Regions from separate parts of the Homo sapiens genome. Here regions 1, 2, 4 and 5 are each linked to region 3. The links are contacts of gene promoters, found by promoter capture Hi-C in blood cells and fetal thymus (Javierre and others, 2016). All regions are on one chromosome and are shown on one strand. Each heading gives the region's core, a stretch centred on a gene start or on the middle of the fragment in contact. The rest is flanking DNA. Distances are from core to core; before and after follow the strand shown. Region 1 holds the start of GIPC1 (GIPC PDZ domain containing family member 1). Region 2 has its middle 5.5 kb from the start of DDX39A. Region 3 holds the start of PRKACA (protein kinase cAMP-activated catalytic subunit alpha). Region 4 overlaps TECR (trans-2,3-enoyl-CoA reductase). Region 5 overlaps YJU2B (YJU2 splicing factor homolog B).

What was found. The method cuts DNA at HindIII sites, captures the fragments that hold promoters and counts their contacts. A CHiCAGO score of 5 or more calls a contact.
Region 1: the fragment with the promoter of GIPC1 here is called in contact with the fragment with the promoter of PRKACA in region 3 in 7 of 17 cell types (fetal thymus, activated CD4 T cells, non-activated CD4 T cells and 4 more); the score reaches 9.8 in fetal thymus.
Region 2: a fragment that was not itself captured here is called in contact with the fragment with the promoter of PRKACA in region 3 in 10 of 17 cell types (naive CD4 T cells, activated CD4 T cells, fetal thymus and 7 more); the score reaches 11.2 in naive CD4 T cells.
Region 4: a contact is called between a fragment that was not itself captured here and the fragment with the promoter of PRKACA in region 3, in 3 of 17 cell types (naive CD8 T cells, non-activated CD4 T cells and naive CD4 T cells). The highest score is 5.9, in naive CD8 T cells.
Region 5: a contact is called between a fragment that was not itself captured here and the fragment with the promoter of PRKACA in region 3, in 3 of 17 cell types (non-activated CD4 T cells, total CD8 T cells and monocytes). The highest score is 5.7, in non-activated CD4 T cells.

Annotation. Positions count from the first base shown.
Region 1 is chr19:14,494,867-14,497,607 of GRCh38, reverse strand. It overlaps GIPC1 (GIPC PDZ domain containing family member 1), which reads left to right and starts at 1,481. Exons shown (of 9, transcript NM_005716.4): 1 at 1,481-1,571. RefSeq lists silencers at 1,148-1,207, 1,348-1,577 and an enhancer at 1,240-2,166. The HindIII fragment of the contact is 11,428 bases long and covers 1-2,741 here.
Region 2 is chr19:14,423,496-14,426,195 of GRCh38, reverse strand. No RefSeq gene overlaps it. Among named protein-coding and RNA genes, the nearest start is that of DDX39A, 5.5 kb to the right of the region's middle. The HindIII fragment of the contact is 8,906 bases long and covers 1-2,700 here.
Region 3 is chr19:14,116,081-14,119,041 of GRCh38, reverse strand. PRKACA (protein kinase cAMP-activated catalytic subunit alpha) reads left to right here and starts at 1,280. Exons shown (of 10, transcript NM_002730.4): 1 at 1,280-1,540. The coding sequence starts at 1,495. It overlaps LOC124904642 (a long non-coding RNA gene), which reads right to left and starts at 828. Exons shown (of 2, transcript XR_007067144.1): 1 at 1-828. RefSeq lists silencers at 660-1,219, 1,630-1,699. The HindIII fragment of the contact is 7,542 bases long and covers 1-2,961 here.
Region 4 is chr19:14,533,821-14,536,680 of GRCh38, reverse strand. All of the region lies in intron 1 of TECR (trans-2,3-enoyl-CoA reductase), which reads right to left. It also overlaps a transcript of DNAJB1 not described here. Among named protein-coding and RNA genes, the nearest start is that of TECR, 5.7 kb to the right of the region's middle. The HindIII fragment of the contact is 5,775 bases long and covers 1-2,860 here.
Region 5 is chr19:13,760,440-13,763,172 of GRCh38, reverse strand. YJU2B (YJU2 splicing factor homolog B) reads right to left here. Exons shown (of 10, transcript NM_030818.4): 9 at 736-874; 10 at 1-583. The coding sequence ends at 105. Among named protein-coding and RNA genes, the nearest start is that of MRI1, 2.7 kb to the left of the region's middle. RefSeq lists an enhancer at 1-440. The HindIII fragment of the contact is 2,861 bases long and covers 1-2,682 here.

The DNA of each region.
Region 1 (2,741 bases), core at 232-2,731, 380 kb before region 3:
CTGTGCCTGTTGCCTGGCCTGCCACAGCAATCTCGGTGTTTGCCAGCTGGGTGGGGCTGGCTAGGCAATCCTCAGCAGCAAAGCTCAAGGTTCCATCTCCCATTTTAGTTTGCCCCTCTGCAGGTCCTGGTGGGACTGATATGCACAACATCTCACCCTGGGAACTGCAAAGAACCAGTCTTTCTATGGAGCTTGAGCAGGGTCTCAGCACTTAGAGGCTTCCAGGAACTACAGTTCCCAGAACACACAGCATTCAGCCCCAGTTGCTGTCCAAGTGGCTGGGTTTGAACTAGAACAAGGAAATCTCACTTGTCCCGGGAACTGAGCGTCCTGGCCTGGTCCAGGTGCATTTGTGACTCTTGTTTCTTGGATCTGTGTCCACCTGATAAATCCCCCTTCCTTATAAACTACATGGTCTATTTGTCCACACAGGTTTGCTGAGAACCTGCCGTGTGGCAGCCTGAGGTGGGAGTGAGGGGTTGACAAGAGAGACTCAGCCTCCACCCTCACAGTCAGATGGAGGAGACAGATCTATGAAAGGCTGGCTGGGTACCTTCTGTGACCTAGCACATAAACAAACCAACAAGCAGATAAACTATCTCACCCTTGTCTTTCATTGCATCTTGCCTTTCCACACTGATTTACTAGCTCCCACGATATTGCAGTATCCTAAAGCGTGCTGTATCTCTCTGTCCGGCTTTTGCACGCTCTGTTACCTCTACCAGGAGCACATTCAGCTTATTCACTGACGCGTCTTCAGAGGTAGGACAGAGTCTGGCACGGAGCAGTCTGGCACATTAAATATTTGATGAGTGAGTGAACGAATGAATGAATGAATGCCTTTGTCCATTGTACAGCCCAGGAAGCAGGGAAACTCGGGACCCTCCCTATTCATCTCGATCCCCCGCCCGCCCCCAGAGATTGAATGCATCTTTTTATCCGCTCCGAGGATGGCCAGGCTGGGGCAGAGGAGGCCGGGCAGGGAACTGGGTTGGGGACTGCCATTGACCCCCACCCAGGTCTCCTAAACTGTCCGCTTTCCTGGACGTCGGAAGTTCGAATCCTTTCCCCGAAACCTGGCCTAGGTCACCTGACTCCCCCGCCCCTCACCACCCAGGGCACCCGAGACTGACACTCAGCCGACAGCACGTGGTTCAGGGGCCCCAGCTTCCTTCCCATTGGCCGCTTGTCTCCTTCCTCCCTCGCGATTGGCCGGGGCCCAGCTGCAGCTCCCCCCCCTCCTCAGCCCTCCGGTGGTACAGCCAGCCGCGGCTTAGGCGGGGCGGAACGGTCCACTGCTTCGCGGCGAGGGGAGGAGTCGGGAAGAGCCGGGCGAGGCGGAGGGATCCCTCTGGAATGTTTCCGTCGGGTCCACCCGAAGCGGAAGACGCGGATTGGCTGCGAGCACCGAGAGGCAGCCGCTGATTGGCCGGCCGCGGGCGTCGGCCCCGCCCCCCAGGCGCCGCTGCGGGAGAGGCCCGGTCTGGAGTTTGCGGAGGGCCGAGCCGGGTGCGCACGGGGAGGCGGAGGCAGCGGCGGCGGCGGCGGCGGCGGCGGCGGCGGCGGAGCAGGTGAGTGGCCTCTGCGAGAAGGATGTGTCTGCTCCGGGGGCCTCGGGGGTCGCGGGCCTGCGAGGATCCGGCCGATCCTGCAGGGTGGGGCCGGCGCCGTGGACGCGACTGGAGGTCTAGGCTGCGCGCGGGGATGCCGGAGGCCCCTTCCCAGGGGAAGCGGGGGTGGGGGGTGGTGGGGGCAGCTCCCTTCCTGCTGGCGGGCAGGGGACAAACGCCTCCCAACGCTGGGCTGGGGTTTCTGGGCTTGCCCCTCCCCCCGTCCCCCGGCTGGACTGTCCCCATCCCAGCGTGGACAGGCGCGGGGTCAGTGTTTCTGACCCTTTCCTGGGCACTTCCCCTGAGCTAACCGCGTCTGAACCCTCCAGGGCCTTGGGGGGGACGCAGTGAGGACCACGGTCTGAATAATAATCGTCATGAAAAACTCCACCTCAGCTAGCATTTATTGGAGAGCTTCCGTGTCAGGCATTTACCATGAGGATAATTGACTCTAAACACCTCATGGGAGGTGCTGTGCCTTCTTGTAAAAAAGGTGAGGCAGCCTACCCAGAGAGGTGGAGTGACTTGCCCAAGGTCACACAGCTAGTAACTGGCACATCTGGGACTGGAACTCATGCCCCAGGGTCCAGAACTGGAGTCACACCCACTAGACTGGATACCAATAACTCCACGGCTCAGTTGTTGCTGAGTAGCTCCGGCCCCCTACCCCTCCCACCCCCTACCCCGTACTCATCATCAGGGCCACACCTGCTGGTCTTTTGCTTTACCAGCCACTCAAACAGGAAGCTGCCCTCCTTTCCCTTCTCCCCAGAGCTGGAGAGGGCAGGTCTAACTACCTGGGTCCAGAGAAGAGAGTGGCGTCTGCAGGGGGCCAGGATGCTGGGGTCTGGGCCCACTGGGTTCCCCCCTGGCAACCTGGGCCGAGGCTGGGAAGTAGGCGTTCTCCCCGGAAACACCCAGGAGCCGGTTTTTCAAGAGTGAATCAGAGGCCTCTTTCCCTCCTTCTCTCCAAAGCAACACTGTGCTGGAACGGGGAGCCTGGGCGTGGTTTCCCCCTTCCCCTAGCTTCTGTGTGCTCCCAGGAACCCCCTTCCCCTCCTCCTGCTGGCCACACTGCTTCTGTGTGGCCGTGGGGTTGCTAAGTTTCAGGCCCTTCCCAGGATGAGGGGG
Region 2 (2,700 bases), core at 38-2,537, 310 kb before region 3:
TTCAAATAAAAAACAAAAATCATGCTACTGCATTCCAGCCTGGGCAACAGAGTGAGACCAAAGAAACAAAAAAACAAACCACCTCCCACCGTCAAAAAAAAAACAAACAAAAACAAATAGTCTCACCTTACTTCCAACCACATGGCCCTTGCACTGGCTGTTATCTGTTCTGGAATGCTTTTCTATCACATCTTTCCAGGGCTGGCCCCTTTTGCTCATTTAGTTATCTGTTTAAATGTAACATCTTCTGAGCAATCTTCCTAGACCACACCGACGTCATTTCTGGCCCTTGGCCCTGTTTGATTATTTTGCATGTTACTCCTCCCTGAAATTGCACAGAGCCTGTGCTACGTCCGTCTTTGTGAAAGGAATGAGTGGGCACAGTATGAGGTATCAGGCGAAAGGTATCCCAGACTGCAAAGGCTGGAGGGGGTAGCTGTCGCACTTCAGAGGAAGCAGTCAGTGTAGGCTTCCCTGAAGGGCAGGTACTGGAGTAAACTTGGGAAAGACAAGCTAGAAAACTGCAAGGTAGGCTGGGCACGGTGGCTCACGCCTGTAATCCCAGCACTTTGGAAGGCCGAGGTGGGTGGATCACGAGGCCAGGAGATTGAGACCGTCCTGGCTAACACAGTGAAACCCCGTCTCTACTAAAAATACAAAAAAAGGCCAGGCGCGGTGGCTTATGCCTGTAATCCAAGCACTTTGGAAGGCCGAGACGGGAGGATCACAATGTCAGGAGTTGGAGAGCAGCCTGGCCAATATGGTGAAACCCTGTCTCTACCAAAAATATAAAAATTAGTCAGGCGTGGTGGTGGGCGCCTGTAGTCCCAGCTACTCGGGAGGCTGAGGCAGGAGAATCGCTTGAACCTGGGAGGCAGAGGTTGCAGTGAGCCGAAATCATGCCACTGCACTCCAGTCTGGGCGACAGAGCAAGACTCTCTCAAAAAAAAAAAAAAAAGGACTAAGCGTAGTGCCTCAGGCCTGTAGTCCCAGTACTTTGGGAGGCAGAGGTGGGAGGATTGCAGAGGACAGGAGTTCTAGACCAGCCTGGGCAGCATAGGGAGAGCATCATCTTTAGTTATTATTATTATTATTATTGAGACAAAATCTTGCTCTGTCACCCAGTTTGAAGTGTAATGGCACGATCTCGGCTCACTGCAACCTCTGCCTCCCAGGTTTAAGCAATTCTCCTGTCTCAGCCTCCTGAGTAGCTGGGATTACAGGCGTGTGCCACCGCGCCTGGCTAATTTTTTGTGTTTTTAGTAGAGATGGGGTTTCACCATGTTGGCCAGGCTGGTCTTGAGCTCCTGACCTCAAGTGATCCACCCACCTCAGCTTCCCAAAGTGCTGGGATTACAGGCAGGAGCCACTGGGCCCAGCTTCTAGTTATTTTTTAATGATACTAAAGAGAAAGAAAGGAACAAAATGATGCAGTCTGATACCATTTGTATCAAACACACACACACACACACACACACATATATATATAAAGTGAAAAAATGTATAAAGTAAAGGAGGCTGGGCGGGGTGGCTCATGCCTATAATCCTAGCACTTTGGGGAGGCAGAGGCGGGAAGATTGCTTGAGCTCAGGAGTTCCAGAGCAGCCTGGACAACATGGCAAAACCTCATTTCTTCTAAGAAATACAAAAATTAGTGGGCCAAGGAGGTGGAGGTTACAGTGAGCTGAGATCTCACCTGGCACTATGGCCCGAGTGAAAGCCAGACTGTTTATTTTTTTCTTTTTATTTATATCATGTAATTTTATTTTTTGAAACGGAGTCTCGCTCTGTCGCCCAGGCTGGAGTGCAGTGGTGTGATCTCAGCTCACTGCAGCCTCCACCTCCCAGGTTCACAAGATTATTCTGCCTCAGACAACTGAGTAGCTGGGATTACAGGTGCCTGCCACCATGCCCAGATAATTTTTGTAGTTTTAGTAGAGACGAGTTTTCTCCATTTTAGCCAGGCTGGTCTTGAACTCTTGACCTCAGGTGATTCACCCGCCTCGGTTCCCAAAGTGCTGGGATTACAGGCGTGAGCCACTGTGCCTGGCCCAGACCCTGTTTGAAAAAAAATAAAAATTAGTCGGGCATGGTGGCAGGTGCCTGTAATCCCAGCTACTCGGAAGGCTGAGGCAGAAGAATCGCTTAAACCCGAGAGGTGGTGGTTGCAGTTAGCCGAGATCGTGCCACTGCACTCCAGCCTGGGGAACAAGAGTGAAACTCCGTCTCAAAAAAAAAAAAAAAAAAAAAAAAAGTAAATGGGAAAAATAAAAAGGGAAATGAAAGGAAATTTATATGAAGTAGCTTTTTAGCTTTTTTTTTTTCCTTTGGTAGAGAAGAGGTCTCACCACATTGCCCAAGCTAGTCTTGAACTTCCTGCCTCAGCCTTCCAAAGTTCTGGGATTACATGTGTGAGCCACTACACCCAGTACCTTTTCTATGTTTTGATATGTATAGATATCCAAATACCTACCATTGTAACATCACAAAGAAGATGAAGGTAAAAACAACAAAACAAATACTTAGCATTGTGTTGCAATTGCCTACAGTATTCAGACAGTTACACACTGTCCGGGTTGGTAGCCTAGGAGCAGTAGGCTTTATATAGCAGGGGTCCCCACCCCCACCCCTCCCTGGCCTTGTGGCCTGTCAGGGACCAGGCCACACAGCAGGAGGTGAGTGATGGGTGAGCATTACCTA
Region 3 (2,961 bases), core at 31-2,530:
AGCAGATCGGCTTGTAGTTAAGCCCAGCTAGCCCTTCCGAGTCGGGGTGACCTGGCTTCTCCCCTCCCCTGACCCTCTCTTAAGTGCTTCTCAATCAGGAGCAGTTCGGCCCCGCAAGAGCACATTCACCAATGTCAGGAGACAGCGGTTGCCACAGCCAGCAGGAAGATAGAGGAGGGGCTACTGGCATCCAGTGGGTAGAGGCGGGGGATGTTGCTCAACACCCAGTGGTGCACAAGACACCCCCCAGCAGAAAATGATCCAGCCTCACCGTCAGTAGTGTCGCAGTTGGGAAACCCCGACTGTCCTCTGCTAAGTGTGTACTGAAAGAGGATCCTGAAGGAAGGGGCAGGTTCCCTTCGCATTGCCCAGACAGGAAATACAGACGGGGAACAGGAGCAGGGAATCTGCCTGGCTGTACCCCAGATTCCTCATCTGTGCAATGGGAGTGATGATGGTAGCACCTACGCGATGGGAGTGTGGTGCGAAGGAGCGTTAAGTGGGTGCCAGCTCTTACTACTGGCAGGAGCCCAGGGCTAGGGCCCAGCAAAGGGGTGGACACTGAGCGCCCCTTCCCAGCCACCCCTTGCGCCGGGCCCGGCATCCTCCTGAGTGCGGCTGGGAAAACCCAGGAGGCCCCGCGGCCTGGCCCCCAAGCAGGCCTGGCCTCGGCCGCCCAGCGCCAGGCCTTATGAATGACGCCGGCGGCGGCCGGGCGACCTCTGACCCGCGCGCCGGCCGCGCCCCTCCCCCGCTGGCAGGTGGACAGCGGCTGCGCCGGGCAGGCCGCGGCGCCAACTCCGGCTGGCCGACAGCCGCTGCCGCACTGAGCGGGGGCGGGGGACTGCGGCGCGCGCGGGGCCGGCCGGGCGCCCGCCGGGGCCGCCTCCTGAGCCTCGGAGCGCTGCGCGGCCGCCAGCCAGCCTCCGCCGCCCCGCCCCGCCGGCCCGGGCCCGCAGACTGCGTCTCCGCCCCGCCCTCTCACCCCCGGATTGACACTGAGCGTTCTGCTGGGGGGCTTGGCGGACCCGGCACCTCCGCCAATCGGCGGCCTCGCAGGGCGGACCCCGGGCCCAGTCCAGCGTCTCGGCCAATCGGACGCGTCTGCCCGCCCAGCTGCGGCCTCGCGAGCGAGTGAATGGCCGAGAGTCCGCGGTGCGTGTCCCGAGGCTGAGAGCCTATAGTGGCGCGGGAAGGTCGCGGGAGGGCCAATGGGAGGCGGCGCTGAGCCGTCAGTCAGGGCGGCCTAGGCCAATGAGCGGCGGGCTGCGGGGGCGTCACAGACAGCGGCAGAGATCTTGGGCTGAGGTTCCCGGGCGGGCGGGCGCGGAGAGACGCGGGAAGCAGGGGCTGGGCGGGGGTCGCGGCGCCGCAGCTAGCGCAGCCAGCCCGAGGGCCGCCGCCGCCGCCGCCCAGCGCGCTCCGGGGCCGCCGGCCGCAGCCAGCACCCGCCGCGCCGCAGCTCCGGGACCGGCCCCGGCCGCCGCCGCCGCGATGGGCAACGCCGCCGCCGCCAAGAAGGGCAGCGAGCAGGAGAGCGGTGAGTGCCCGGGCTGTGACCCCGATCTTGGCCCTGCGCTGCCAGCCCTGGCCTTGTCCATCATCGCCTGGCCCCTCCCCCTACGGGGCCCCTCATCCTCTCTGCCTACCCCCCAGCGCCCCTTGCCCCGGCCTGTCCAAGGCTGGGGCCCGCGGGCCCGCAGAGTACCCCCTGTAGGGGTCCCCTTCCCCTAGGGCCGCCCCATGCTGCAAAGACCGTGCTCCCCCCCAGCTGTCACTGCCAACCATGGCACGTATGACCGCTGGGGCCCCACATGGGCCCCTGTCACCAGCCTACCCCCTCCTTTCCTGGCCCCTCTTCCCAGATTCTAATCCCCCCACTTCCTCACTCACCTCTCTCACCTATGGGATCCTCTGCCTGACCCCGACCCAGGTTTCTACCAGTTTGGGAATGCGATGAGGTCTGTCTGCCTCCACCGCGCAGGGACCTTGGCCACTTGCTGACCACACCCCTCCCCCCTCCAGCCCCCGCCATCTTTCTCCTGCCCTTTCCCTCTTCACCTTAGCACAGCCCCCCCTTCCAAACCCATCCTGCCCCCTGAACATTTCCCAGAGCCACCTCCAGCATTATTTTTTTCTTCTGTGTCACTTGGCATGGGGGACAGGATCTTTCTGGGTCCCTCTGCCTCTCTCATCCTGTCACTCTGTCATTCTGCTGCTCTGCTTGTGCTCCGTCCTCCAAGCAAGCGTCTGTCCCTGGCTGGGGTAGCAGACTGTTTATGAACGTAGAGAATTGCTTCAGTGCTTCCAAAGCCAAGTTTGAGCTGGTCTTGTTGGGATTCATTGCATCCTCTTTCCTGCGTTGGGGTAAGGGGGTGGTGGCAGAGCCCCCTCTCATTTCCTGTCTTGCAGTGAGCTCTAGGCTCCATGGAGGGCCCCTCAATAAATGGTCGTTTCACAACTGAGGCTCCGTCATTCACCCAGTCCCTGGGGCTTCTTCCACCACTCCTGGCTTGGGATGAAAAGTGTCTGGGTTTAGCGAGGTTCATTCGGTTCTAACTGAGATGGTCAGAAAGAGCACTGGGGAGGAGGAGGCAGTCAAAGAGAGTAATGGGTGACGTCTAGTGATTTGCTTTGACGTCTAGTGATTCTGATCATTCCCAGGGCTCAGCCAGAGAGAGACCTGTTTCACCCACTTGCCCACACATTAGGTTGGTCTTTTCCAGCCAGCCAGAGAAAGAGATTCTCTATCTGGAAATACCATCAGAAATGGTCTTGAACCCCATTCCCAATTTTTACAGCTCTTAAATTGTTGTCACTCCAGTCTGAAAGCTGGAAGGCAGCTGGGATCCCCTGTCCACTTACCCAGAAATAGTCGGAACTATTGGTCGAAAAGGAAGGCCAGTTTTTGGTCTCAAACCCCAGCATCTGAGTTTCCTGAATGCCCCCTCCCAGAAAGGT
Region 4 (2,860 bases), core at 5-2,504, 420 kb before region 3:
TGTCAGCCTGATATCCCTGAACACAGAGTTGGGAAGATGCACACCATCAGCCAATGTCAGCCGGGTCTCGCACACCCAGGTGTCATTTTATGGATTAAAAAGCTAGTTCAAGGCCAGCCGCTGTGGCTCACGCCTGTAATCCCAACACTCTGGGAGGCCAAGGTGGGAGAATCACTTAAGGTCAGGAGTTCAAGACCAGCCTGGCCAATATGGTGAAACCCCATCTCTACTAAAAATACAAAAATTAGCCGGGCGTGGTGGTGGGCGCCTGTAATCCCAGCTACTCAGGAGGCTGAGGCAGGAGAATCGCTTGAACCCAGGAGGCAGAGGTTGCAGTGAGCCTAGATGGCACCACTGCACTCCAGCCTGGGCAACAGAGGGGGACTCTGTCTCACGAAAAAAAAAAAAAAAAACTAGCTCGAGAAACTAAAGACCTTGCCCGTGGGCTCCAAACCTTGTCAGTGGCAGTTAAGCATATGAGCCTAGCACTGATCCAAAGCCCGTAAGCATTGCCACCTTCCCAGGAAGAGTATCAATCAATACTGCCCAACCCAAAGGGGAACTGGCCTGCAGCCCTGGAAAAGGCCTTGTTCTCTGGGTCTCAGGTCCCTCATCTGTAACTTTACAGAAGTTAAACCAGAAAAATTATCTCAAGCCTGGGGCTCTGAGATTCTGAGTGCCTACAGCAAAGAAATGGCCTAAGTACAAAGCTACAGCCAGGACAGAAGGGACTCCACCAGGAGAATCTGCCCAGTGAGTCACCATCTGCTCAAAGCAAGAAGCCTGCAGGAAAATCTGAAAAGCCTAAGATCCCCTCCAACCCCCTCAGGATCTTGGCCTGAGTCAGGCTAACATAGGAAAGGTCTTTATAGCTCACCACAGCTCAAGGCTCACCACTTTCCCTTTTTTTTTTTTTTTTTTTTTGAGACAGAGTCTCACTCTGTTGCCCAGGACCGGAATGCAGTGGTGCGATCTCAGCTCGTCCGCGACCTCCACCTCCCAGGTTCAAACGAATTCTCCTGCCTCAGTCTCTCGAGTACCTGGGATTACAGGAGTGCACCATGATGCCTGGCTAATTTATATATACATACATATATATATATATATATATATATATATATATATATATATATATATTTTTTTTTTTTTTTTTTTTTTTTTTTTTTTTTTTTTTGAGACGGAGTCTCGCTCTGTCGCCCAGGCTGGAGTGCAGTGGCGCGATCTCGGCTCACTGCAAGCTCCGCCTCCCGGGTCAAGCCATTCTCCTGCCTCAGCCTCCCAAGTAGCTGGGACTACAGGTACCCACCACCACACTCAGCTAACTTTTTCTATTTTTTAGTAGAGACGGGGTTTCACTGTGTTAGCCAGGATGGTCTCGATCTCCTGGCCTCGTGATTCACCCACCTCGGCCTCCCAAAGTGCTGGGATTACAGGCATGAGCCACTGCACCCGGCCAATTTTTATATTTTTAGTGGAGAGGGGGTTTCGCCATGTTGGCCAGGCTAGTCTTGAACTCCTGACCTCAGGTGATCCTCCTGCCTCAGCCTCCCAACGTGCTGGGATTACAGGCATGAACCACTGCACCCAGGCAAGGCTCATCACTCTCAATCCTGCCCTTACTGCAAGGGGCAGCCCATCCGATTTTAGGGCAGAGAAAGACCCTCTCCCAGCAGTCCACACTGACCCGCAGCACCTCGCCCTCCCTTCAGGGATGCTCTGTCCTCAGAACACAGCAGGAGAGCCACCAGCTGTCCTAGGGCAGCATCAGCAGAGAAGCCATCAGTGTGGACAAAACTGGAGTCTGACAAACCCAGGTTCAGCTCCCTGGCTTCCAGGCTCTGTGACCTTGACCAGCTTAGTTTACCTCTCTGAGCTTCAGTTGCATTATCTGTAAAGTAGAACAGTAGTTCCCATCTGATCAGGTGCTAATAAGACTCACCCCTGGGCAAGGTGCGGTGGCTCACACCTATAATCCCAGCACTTTGGGATGCCAAGGCAGGAGGATCGCTTGAGCCCAGGAGTTCGAGACCAGCCTGGACTAACATGGTGAAACCCCATCTCTACTAAAACTACAGAAATTAGCCGGGCATGGTGGCACCCACCTGTAATAACAGCTACTTGGGAGGCTGAGGCAGGAAAATCGCTTGAACCGGGGAGGTGGAGGTTGCAGTGAGGTGAGATCACATCACTGCACTCCAGCCTGGGTGACAGAGCGAGACTCTGTCACAAAAAAAAAAAAAAAAAAAAAAAAAAAAAAGGCCAGGCATGGTGGCTCACTCCTGTAATCCCAGCACCCTGGGAGGCCGAGGCGGGCGGATCATAAGGTCAGGAGATCGAGACCATCCTGGCTAACACGGTGAAACCTCATCTCTACTAAAAATACAAAAAATTAGCCAGGCATGGTGGCAGGCACCTGTAGTTCCAGCTACTCGGGAGGCTGAGGCAGGAGAATGGCGTGAACCCGGGAGGCGGAGCTTACAGTGAGCCAAGATGGAGCCACTGCACTCCAGCCTGGGCGAGAGTGCGAGACTCTGTGTAAAAAAAAAAAAAGAAAGAAAACACCCTAAATGTGGGTTATGGGGGACCCCAAGAGGCTCGCTTCTGGGTATTCAGCTGCGGGAAATGGGCAGTGACCTGGACTGCTGGAGGCTGAAGACAGACTGATTTTCTCAGGAATTAACAGGCTCAATTACAAGATGTAGTAGCTGTTTTTCCAGTTGCTGCTGGGCTCATTGCTTTGAGTCTCATCTGCAGTGGCAAAAACAGCAATAAAATAAAAAAATACATTAAAAAAATACTGTATCCTAGGATAAGCAGTTCGCTTACCGACCTAGCTCTGACCCCAAGACAATGCTAAGGC
Region 5 (2,733 bases), core at 3-2,502, 360 kb after region 3:
CTCTCCCAGGGCTGGTGGGCGAGCCGGGGGTCTGCAGTCTGTGAGGGGCCTCCTGGGTGTGTCCGGGCCTCTAGAGCGGGTCCAGTCTCCAGGATGGGGATCGCTCACTCACTCTCCGAGTCGGAGTAGTCCGCCACGAGGGAGGAGCCGAGACTGCAGGGGTGCCGCGTGTCGGGGGTGTCAGCTGCCTCCTGGGAGGAGCCTGCTGGCGACAGGGGCTTGTCCTGACGGCTCCCTTCCTGCCCCCTCGGGCTGCTGCACTTGGGGGTCTCAGTTGTTTCCGGAGGACAGTCTCCGGGGGACATGGGCCGGTCCTGGGCAGCCTCCTCTGGTACCCGCGGTTCCCCAGACTTGGGGGTGTCGGCCGCATGCTGGGGGCTCTCCGGGACGTCCCGAGACCTCCGCCGCACGATGCCCAGGTCCCCGACGGTGATGGGGGAGGTGGCAAGCGCGGTTCTGCGGCTCTGTGCCAGCTTCTTCAGGACGCCGCTGACCTTGCTGCTGGAGGCGGATCCGGGGGCAGAGGGGAACCAGGAGCGGCTGATGATCTCGGTCCGCTTGAGTTTCTGCTTGTCCTCGTAGGCTAGAGGAGAGGAGAGGACATTTCAGGGGCGGCAGGGGAGGGGGTCCAGAACTGCCCTCTGGTAGACCAGAGTCCACTCATGGCTGAGGACCCCCCATCTCCAGGCAACTCTGAGCCTCCCTGTCCCCTTTTCCCCCTGGCCTCCTACGCACAGTCCAGGGTGTGGAACTTCAGCAGAGCCGCCAGCTTGCGGTCATCTTCCGTCTCGGGCACCAGCGGGATGGTCAGGCTCGCCTTGGCCTGCAAGGCCTGGTCTCTCTCCTCCTCCTCCTGGATGGCTTTTTTCTTTTCCTGTGTTGAGGGCCAAGAACACCAGAGATAGGGGGTGTCAAAGCCCTGTCTCTTCTGTGTACTAGGGGGCACTGCTCCAACTCTCGGGGTCTCATTTACTCTTTTTGAGACAGTTTCATTCTGTCGCCCAGACTGGAGTGCAGTGGCACAATCATAGCTCACTGCAGCCTCGAACTCCTGGGCTCAAGCGATTCTCTCATGTCAGCCTCCCAAGTATCCAGTACTACAGATGTGCACCACCACGCCCAGCTAATTAAAACATTTATTTTTGTAGAGACTGGGCCTGGTAGTTCATGTCTGTAATCCCAGCACTTTGGGAGGCTGAGGCGGGTGGATCCCTTGAGGCCAGTAGTTTGAGACCAGCTTGGCCATCAAGGCAAAATCCTGTCTCTATTAAAAATATAAAAATTAGCCAGGCATGGTGGCATGCGCCTATGGTCCTAGCTACTTGGGAGGCTGAGGCATGAAAATCACTTCAACCGGGGAGGTGGAGGTTGCGGTGGGCTGAGATCGTTGTCACTGCACTCCAGCCAGGGCGAAAGGGGGGAGACTGTTTCAAAAAAAAAAAAAAATTTTTTTTTGTAGAGATGGGGTCTCACTATGTTGCCCAGGCTGGTCTCCAACTCATGGCCTCAAACAATCCTCCCACCTGAGCCTCCCAAAGCACTGGGATTACAGGTGTGAGCCACCACGCACGGCCTCATCCCACAAATATTTCTGGGATACCCACCTTGTGCTAGGCTTTGTTCTGGACACTCGGCATACAGTGGCAGGCAGGGAAAAACCCTTGCCCTGGTGGAGCTGGCCTCTAGTGGTGAGACAGTGATAAGGAGAAAAAAAATGCAGGACAGGTGGGTAGGGGATGGGCTGGGCGGTTCCATTTATTTTTTAATTTAGTTTAATTCTATATTTTTTTGAGACAAGAGTCTTGCTCTGTCGGCCAGGCTGGAGTGCAGTGGCACGATCTCAGCTCACTGCAAACTCCACCTCCCAGGTTCACGCCATTCTCTTGCCTCAGCCTCCCAAGTAGCTGGGACTACAGGCACCCGCCACCACACCTGGCTAATTTTTTTTTGCATTTTTAGTAGAGACGGGGTTTCACCATGTTAGCCAGGATGGTCTCGATCTCCTGACCTCGTGATCCGCCTGCCTCAGCCTCCCAAAGTGCTGGGATTACAGATGTGAGCCACCGCGCCCAGCCAAGAGGTTCCATTTAAAATGTGGTGGCCAGGTCAGATGCAGTGGCTCACGCCTGTAATCCTAGCACTTTGGGAGGTTGAGGTGGGTGGATCACATGAGGCCAGGATTTCGAGACCAGCCTGGCCAACATGGTGATACCCAGTCTCTACTAAAAATACAAAAATTAGCCATGCACAGTGGTGGGAACCTGGAATCCCAGCTACTTGGGAGGCTGAGGCAGGAGAATTGCTTGAACCTGGGGTGGAGGCTTCAGTGAGCCGGGATCATGCCACTGCACTGCAGCATGGGCGACGAGCGAGACTCAGTCTAAGCAAAAACAAAACACAAAAAACCCAACATTAGCCAGGTGTGATGGCTCATGCCTGTGGGTCCCAGCTACTTGGGAGGCTTAGTGGGGAGGATTGCTTGAACCTGGGACATCGAGGCTGCAGTGAGACATGATTTGCCGCTGTACTCCAGCCTGGGCAACAGAGTGAGACCCAGTCACAAAAAGAAAAAAAATAAATAAATAAAAGGAGGCAACCAGGTAGGTATCTCCCATGGCATGGTGAGGTAGGGGTGAGCTATGGTCTCAATGTCTGTGTCCCCCAAATTGATATGTTGAAGCTTAATCCTCAACGTTGACAGTGTTAAAAGATGTGAGGCATTTGGGGAAGTAA